Regions from separate parts of the Homo sapiens genome. Here region 1 is linked to region 2. Evidence: promoter capture Hi-C in human tissues and cell types (Jung and others, 2019). All regions are on one chromosome and are shown on one strand. The core of a region is centred on a gene start or on the middle of the fragment in contact, and the rest is flanking DNA. Distances in the headings are between cores, read along the strand shown. Region 1 holds the start of ZNF780B (zinc finger protein 780B). Region 2 holds the start of MAP3K10 (mitogen-activated protein kinase kinase kinase 10).

Region 1 (4,381 bases), core at 87-2,586, 140 kb before region 2:
TAGCATGAATACTGCTTAATGGTATATCAAATATTTTTCTTTTCATAATTCTTTATAGACATCATTTTATTAGCTGCATAATACTTTATCACTTGAGTCTAGTATAATTTGCTTAGTGATTTCCATATTACAGGACACTTGATTTATATAAGATCATTTACAGTGTCATTCCAGGTATCACAATCTTTTGATTCTAGACTAAGGTTTTTCACCCTAGGCACTAATGACATATTGTGCTGTATAATCCTTTGTTGGGGCTATAGGGAGGGTTATCCTGTGCACGGTACAATGTTCAGCAGTATCCCTGACCTCTATCCACTAGATCTAAGTAGCACCTCCCCCATGGTGTGACAACCAAAAGTTTTTAAACATCACCCCCGCTGAGAATCAATGTTCTATCTAGATCAATGGATCCAAACCTCATGGGTCACATACAGTTTTGATAGTCTTATGAAATGATATACTATTTCTCCCTCTAAAACCCACATTGATAAATTTCCATAGTACTTCAATACATTATTTCAAGAGCTTTGTGGTCCCCAAGACCATACGTGGAGTTACAAGAACTCAGATTAAGAATTTCAGTCCTACATTCTTGACAAAAATAGAAAAAAAAAAATCCTAAAATGTGCATAGAACCACAAAAGACCCAAATAGCCAAAGCAGTCTGGAGCAAAAAGAACAAAGTTGGAGGCATCAAACTACCTGACTTCAATATATACTACAAAGCTATAGTAACCAAAACAGCATGATACTGACATAAAAACAGACACCTAGACAAACGGAACAGAATAGAGAGCCCCAGAATAAATCCATATGTTTACAACCAACTGATTTTTGAGACAGGTGCCAAGAACATACAATAAGGAAAAGACAGTCTCTTCAATACATACTGTTGTGAAAACTGGGGAGTCATACACAGAAGAATGAAATTAGACCCTTTTCTCAAACCATTATACAAAAATCAACTCTAAATGGATTAAAGATTTAAATGTAAGATCCCAAACTATGAAACAAATAGAAAAAAACGTACGGGGAAAGCTTCATGACATTGATCTGGGCAATAATTTTTTTTTCTAGAAATGACTTCAAAAGCACAGGCAATAAAAGCAAACATAGACAAATGAAATTACATCAAGCTAAAAAAGCTTCTGCACAGCAAAGTGAAGAGACTACCTACAGAATGAGAGAAAATATTTGCAGTCATGTATCTAATAAGGGGTTAATATCCAAAACGTGTGAGGAACTCAACAGCAAGAAAACAACCCAATTAAAAAATGGGCAAAGGACCTGATAAACACATCTCAAAAGACGACATATAAATGGCTACAGTATATGAAAAAATACTCAACATTACTAATCATCAGGGAAATGAAAATTAAACCTACAATAAGATATCACCTCATATGTGTTGGGGTGGCTATTGAAAAGACATAAGTTAACAAATGTTGGTGAGAATGTAGAGAAATGTGAACCATTGCACACTGTTGGTGAGAATGTAAAGTGACACAGACATTATGGAAAACAGCATGGAGGTTCCTCAAAAAATTAGAAATAGAACCACCATATGATCCAGCAATCTACTACTGGATATTTATCCAAAGGAAATGAAATCTGTATACCAAAGAGACACCTGCACACCCATGTTTATTGCAGCACTATTCACAATAGCCAAGATATGGAATCAATCTAACTGTCTATCAATGAATGGATAAAGAAAATGTGGTATATATGCAGGTATATATACACAATGGAAAACTAGCCATAAAAAAAGGGAAATGCTGTCATTCGCAACAACATGGATGAACCTGGAGAAATTCATATTAAGTAAGCCAAGCACAGAAAGGCAGATGATCTCACTCATCAGTGGAATCTGAAAAATGTTCATATAGGCCAGGTGCGGTGGCTCACACTTGTAATCCCAGCACTTTCGAAAGCGGAGGCGAAGGCCGAGGCAGGCGGATCACCTAAGGTCCAGAGTTCGAGACCACCCTGGCCAACATGGCAAAACCCTGTCTCTACTAAAAATACAAAAATAAGCTGGGTGTGGTGGCATGCACCTGTAGTCCCAGCTACTCGGAAGGCTGGGGCAGGAGAATTACTTGAACCCGGGAGGCAGAGGTTGCAGTGAACCGAGATCACGCCACTGCACTCCAGCCTGGGCAACAGAGTAAGACACTCTCTCTCAAAAAAAGAAAACACTTGATATCATAGAATTAGAGAAGAGAATGGTGTTTACAGGTCGGGGGTAATGTGGGTGAGGGAGGGAAGATGGTGTTGGCTGGGGAAATGTTGGTCAAAGGATATAAAATTTCAGGAAGATAAGAGAAATAAGCTCAAGAAATCTATTACACAACAACGTATCTACTATTAATAACTACTATTAATAACTATTCTGTAGTGCTAAGAGAGTGGATATTAAGTGTTCTCACCACAAAAATGATAACTATGTGAGGTAATGCATTGCTAATTAGCTAGATTTAGTCATTCCACAATGTACATATACTATAAAACATCATGTTGCACACGATAAATACATACAATTTTATCTGTCAATTTAAAAAGAACTTCTGTCCTAGATCATTTGAGCAACTCACTCATTTTCTTACTATGCAAGCAGCAATCACAATGAATCACATATTCCCAATGCTCCTGTCCTATAGAAAGTCAAGGGAAATGACCTAAAATGACCACACGAAAACAAAAGCTAAAACATTAAACATTTATTATTATATGCCTAGCACTGCTCTAAGAGGTTTTAGAGTATTAATTCATTCTAATGTTCATTACAAGCCTGAGAAGACCAGAAACGGACAGAACAAACATTCCAACCCAGATACTCTGGATCCACTCCCCTATTCTTAACCGCAACAGCGTACTGCCTCTCACAGTTCACACAAATAGCCCAAAATGCAACCGGAACTGCCGAATCTCACAGAGATCTGGCAAGTATTACAATTATCATCTCATGGACTCTCCCGAAAAATCCTGACTCTGGTTGATACCAATTTCTGTGCAATCACTTTCCGATTCCTGAAAGCCTCACAGACGAATGGAAATCACCCAACCATCTCCATTCTTCCCTACTTGGAAAAGGAGGCCTGTAAAGAGTCAGAAACCTGGCGTGTGATTCCACAAACTAATCTTCTTTTCAAAGCAGAGTCTAAAATAAAGCTTTAATATAAACCTCTGGAGGACTATTTTTATACCAGCTTAGAAGAAGAGAGCGTACAGGAAGGTGTGAACGATTTGCCAAATGGCTCTGTGAATATTAAATGGCAAGGTGGGGAGCGGGCGGGGTGGGGAACGGCTCGCTGGGAGGCGGCACAATGGGAGGGGGCAAGAATCAATTTGCATATTCTCCTGAAATTCACTAAAAATTTACAGGAACCTCTATATTCTAAAATCAAAAACGCATTTCTTGAACAAATACAAAGCACAAACTCACCCTTGACTTAAGTGTGCAACAATAACGCTCTCATCCTCCTCTCGGTCCTTCTTTTGGATAATAATACGACTGGAGAAGGATACGGCAAGCGTGAGACTCCAGGCTTTTCTTGGAGCGCAGACTAAGTTTGAAAGCACCCTCCATGGCCACAACTTCCCTCACTTCGTACGAAATGAGAAGGAAATAAAAGGAGGAGGAATCGGTCTGAGTTCGAAGCTGGTTCCTGGGGACAGATCTCTGAGGGACGCTGGGTTCTCAACATGTAGCTGCCCTCCTGGGGGACCCTCAAGAGGCACTTCCAGCTCTCATATTCCCACCCCGAGTCCAGATCTGCGCCTTCTTGTGCAAAGCTTCATTCTCGGTTCAATATCTAACCTCCCTACTGGGGACATTTTCATTCCTCTGCTGCAGCCTCTGCAGCTTTGAAGGGGAAAGACGGAGGAAGCAGCAGGAGCCTAGTACCACCGGCACAGTGACACTCACACAGCCCCAGCAAAACGCACTGCGTCCACACGCCGTCCCGGTCCTGTGCACAGGGCCTCACGCACACACTCACACAGTCCCCTCCGTCACTCAAGATCGCGCAATCCCCATCCTTTGATGCCCGCGCACACGCACGCCTAAGGATCTGGCAGATTCCGTCTGCGCCCCGGGTTCCTCCTCTGAGCGCCTCGCTCTCGCCCACCCGCACTGCCGGGTCGGTCAGGTTCGAGTCCCAGTCCACGAAGACCTCCCGCAGCCACCGATTTCTTCCTAGGACGTGAAGACCTTACCCAGCTAGGTCGTCAACCCCAGGAGACAGGAAGTGGAACCGCTAATTCCGGTGCGGTGGCCTCTGGGAAATACAGTCCTGAGCAGAAAGAACCTCAGAAGTCTTGGTCTATGGTCTGTTCAGGTTGATCCCAGCATACATTGGGGGCTCCTAAGGGACCC
Region 2 (3,916 bases), core at 395-2,894:
AAGTCTTGTTAATTTTAGTGCACCGTTTTGAAGAACTGAAGGTTTTTTAAGAATGCATATAGCAGGTTATAGCAGAAACACTTATACTCAGAATGAAGCTGGGGCTCTCTCTTCCAACAAGCATTTTTGATATGCTCCGAGTGTCCCTGCTAGGTAGCCAGGAGACCAGGTAACCCACTTCCCTCTGACAATGGAACAATTCCCCAAGGACCCTGAGGGGCAGTTCTCTGGAGTTTGGGCACTAGAGTCCCTCTTATTTCCTCTTCTTCTCTCCTCCCTCTAGACCCCATACCACTCAGGAGAGGCCAAGTAAAAAGACCCAGAATTTTGCCTCTTACAAGCTTAGAGATCTTGAAGAAGTCACTGAACCTCTGCGGGACCTACTTTCCTCATTCTTTAAATAGAAAGGCAGTGGGTTTTTTGTTTGTTTGTTTTTTGTTGTTTTTTTTTTTGTTGTTGTTGTTTTTGTTAATCGTGGCGATGGTTATTTATTTATTTATTTATTTTGAGACGGAGTCTTGCCCTGTCGTCCAGGCTGGAGTGCTGTGGCGTGATCTTGGCTCACTGCAACCTCCACCTCCCAGGTTCAAGCGATTCTCCTGCCTCAGCCTCCCGAGTAGCTGGGATAGATTACAGGCGCACACCACCACGCCCGGCTAATTTTTTTTTTTTTTTTTAAATAGTAGAGACGGGGGTTTCACCATGCTGGCCAGGCTGGTCACGAACTCCTGGCCTCGTGATCCGCCCGCCTTGGCCTCCCATAGCGCTGAGATTACAGGCGTGAGCCACCGCGCCCGGCCTGGTTGTTAATTTTTAAAACTGCCTTTCATTTTTGCTTTGCCATTTATAGCTCTGTAGCCTTGCACAAATGACTTCACTTCTCTATGAGTCATCTGTAAAATGGGGCTCTTTGTGAAGACTTAACGATACCACGTGTACAAAGCACTGAATACAACATGCACATTAAGCTCCCCGAAATTGAAACTCCTATAAAATAGGAATCGGGGATTCTCAAGAGCAGGAGTTCTGACTTCAGCAGAGGAACCCAGAGCTGGTGGGGAAAGCAGACGTGGCTGTGACATCCCCAGGGACACTAAACACATCCTCCCAGCCCCATCTTCCCCGCAGAGTCCCGCCACCGGCCCGACCCCTAACTTGCTCCAACCACCCGCCGACGCCCGCAGCCCGCTGTTTGGGGGCCGCCCCCTGCAGCGCCAGGTCCCCGCGCGGACTACAGTTCCCAGCGTACATCTCGGTCGGGGGGTCCGAGGGGCCGTCCTGCCTCAGGGATAAGGTCCAGGCTGCGTTCGCGGCTCCGGGCAGTCACAGTCATGCACGCAGCTCCTATTTTTCGCGTTGCTAATCGCGTCCGTTGCAGTCCAACCCATCCTGGGCCGCGGCCCCCACAGGGTCTGTGAGGAGCGCTTCCCCCCGCCCCGGGCGCCCGCTACGCCGCGTCCGAAGGAGGGGCCGAGGCCGGGCTCATCTCCCCGGGAGGACTCCTTCGGCTTCGTGGGGTGTCATGTCCATTGCGGCCCGAGGCTGGCCGCGGGGCTCTGCTGGAGGGCGCTGAGAGCCGGGCCCCGAGGCCGCACGGCCGGAGACTACAACTCCCAGGAGGCACCGCGGCGGCGGCGCCCACACGTCACTCGGGCCCCGCCGGTGGCCCGGGGAAGCAGCACGGGCGGGGGGCAGGGGCTGGGGCCGACCGGGAGGCCGGTGCCAAGGATGGGGGCCGCCCGGCTGCCCCGCGCGTGAGGAGGCCGAGGGGCGCGCCACCCCGGCCCGGGGCGGCCGCCCCAGGGGCCCCGCCACCCCCGCCCGGCCCGGCAGTCGTGGCCCGGGATGCGGAGCCGGGGGCCGCCGGTGGAGCTGCGCGGGGTGAGCGGCGCGGGGAACGGGGACTGCCTGCCGCCCTCGCCCTCGTCCCCCACCGGCGGACCCCGGCGGGCATTCGAGAGCCGCGCGGCCAGGCCCTCTTAGCCCTCTGCCGTTTGGGGGGCACGGGTGAACCTGCCGCCCCACTCCCACCCCGCCCCGCCCCGCCCGTACAGCCAAATCGGAAGGGACGAGCCTGCCCTTTGAAAGGGTTTTTTTTCTTGCTCCTGCGGAGGGCGCCCCAGCCATGGCCCTCAGGAGCTCCCTAGACCCCGCAGGGACTGCCCTCCATCCCGGCCGCCGGGGCCCGCCCTCTGCATCCCGCGGGCAGCCTGTGTGAAGCGGCCTCCCGCAGCCCCCGGCCCCTCCCCCATGGAGGAGGAGGAGGGGGCGGTGGCCAAGGAGTGGGGCACGACCCCCGCGGGGCCCGTCTGGACCGCGGTGTTCGACTACGAGGCGGCGGGCGACGAGGAGCTGACCCTGCGGAGGGGCGATCGCGTCCAGGTGCTTTCCCAAGACTGTGCGGTGTCCGGCGACGAGGGCTGGTGGACCGGGCAGCTCCCCAGCGGCCGCGTGGGCGTCTTCCCCAGCAACTACGTGGCCCCCGGCGCCCCCGCTGCACCCGCGGGCCTCCAGCTGCCCCAGGAGATCCCCTTCCACGAGCTGCAGCTAGAGGAGATCATCGGTGTGGGGGGCTTTGGCAAGGTCTATCGGGCCCTGTGGCGTGGCGAGGAGGTGGCAGTCAAGGCCGCCCGGCTGGACCCTGAGAAGGACCCGGCAGTGACAGCGGAGCAGGTGTGCCAGGAAGCCCGGCTCTTTGGAGCCCTGCAGCACCCCAACATAATTGCCCTTAGGGGCGCCTGCCTCAACCCCCCACACCTCTGCCTAGTGATGGAGTATGCCCGGGGTGGTGCACTGAGCAGGGTGCTGGCAGGTCGCCGGGTGCCACCTCACGTGCTGGTCAACTGGGCTGTGCAGGTGGCCCGGGGCATGAACTACCTACACAATGATGCCCCTGTGCCCATCATCCACCGGGACCTCAAGTCCATCAACAGTAAGTGGTGTCCTCTCCCCAAAATTCCTTCCACAGAACCTCTCAAGGCCAGGCCTAGGTGGTGGGAAACAGGGTGAGGGACACCAGATGACACTGTGCCTGGAGTGAGAAGGGGCAGCAGTATGATACCTTCAGGGTGAAGGTGAGGTAGGCCTTGCCTGCCTTAAGGGAGAAAAAGGAGGCTCAGAAAGGTTGAAGGACTTACCTGCCTCCCAGGCTGCAGAGTCACAATCGCTCAGTAAACATGTATCCATGAACACCTGCGTTCCCTGCATGAACAGGACAGATGCAGTGCCTGCCTTCAAGGTGCTTGCCATCCAGCCATGCTGCCAGAGTCCACCAGGCAGAGACAAAAAGAGCCTACCCCGTCTGGAGTCAGTGTCTCTCAACCCCAGCACTATTGGCACTTGAGGCCAGATCATTGTTGTAGGGGCTGTCCTGTAAATTGTGAGTTGCTTAGCGGCATCTTTAGCCTCTTCCCACTAGATGTCATTAGCATTCCCTGCCCCCTCTCCCCAGCTATGACAACCAAAAGTGTCTCCAGGCATTGCAAATGTCCCCTGGGGGGCAGAATCACCCCCAGTTGAGAACCATTTCCTGGAGTCTTCATAGGCCGAGCTGGCCAAGGCAAACTGGAAAAGATGAGGGAGGAATTAAATTGATGTGGCTTATATAAAAGCTTCCAGGCTGCCTGATAGGTTCTCCAAAGTTGATTGGTTGGTTGAATAAATAATGGAGCCAGGTAGAAGGGAACATTCTGCAAGACTCATTTCTAGATGGAAGAGCTTCATGTGGTGTCAACAAGTATTAATTGAGCACCTATTAAGCAGGAGCCCAGCTGGGAGTAAGACAGCCATGGTTTCTGCCCTGACAGTACTCACAGGCTAGCAATTTCATTCATTCATTCCACAGATATTTCCAGAGTGCTGTGTGCCAGACCCTGTCCCAGGGATACAGCAAGAAAAAAAAAATCTTACATTCCTG

The links. The method cuts DNA at HindIII sites, captures the fragments that hold promoters and counts their contacts. A contact is called where the count stands out against the background at its distance.
Region 1: a fragment that was not itself captured here is called in contact with the fragment with the promoter of MAP3K10 in region 2 in 4 of the 25 tissues and cell types used here (dorsolateral prefrontal cortex, hippocampus, lymphoblastoid cells and 1 more).

What each region holds. Positions count from the first base shown.
Region 1 is chr19:40,051,968-40,056,348 of GRCh38, forward strand. ZNF780B (zinc finger protein 780B) reads right to left here and starts at 4,264. Exons shown (of 5, transcript NM_001005851.3): 1 at 4,222-4,264. RefSeq lists an enhancer at 4,124-4,253. The HindIII fragment of the contact is 4,300 bases long and covers 1-3,486 here.
Region 2 is chr19:40,189,782-40,193,697 of GRCh38, forward strand. MAP3K10 (mitogen-activated protein kinase kinase kinase 10) reads left to right here and starts at 1,645. Exons shown (of 10, transcript NM_002446.4): 1 at 1,645-2,932. The coding sequence starts at 2,251. RefSeq lists an enhancer at 873-1,112 and silencers at 1,273-1,772, 2,043-2,342. The HindIII fragment of the contact is 11,839 bases long and covers 1-3,916 here.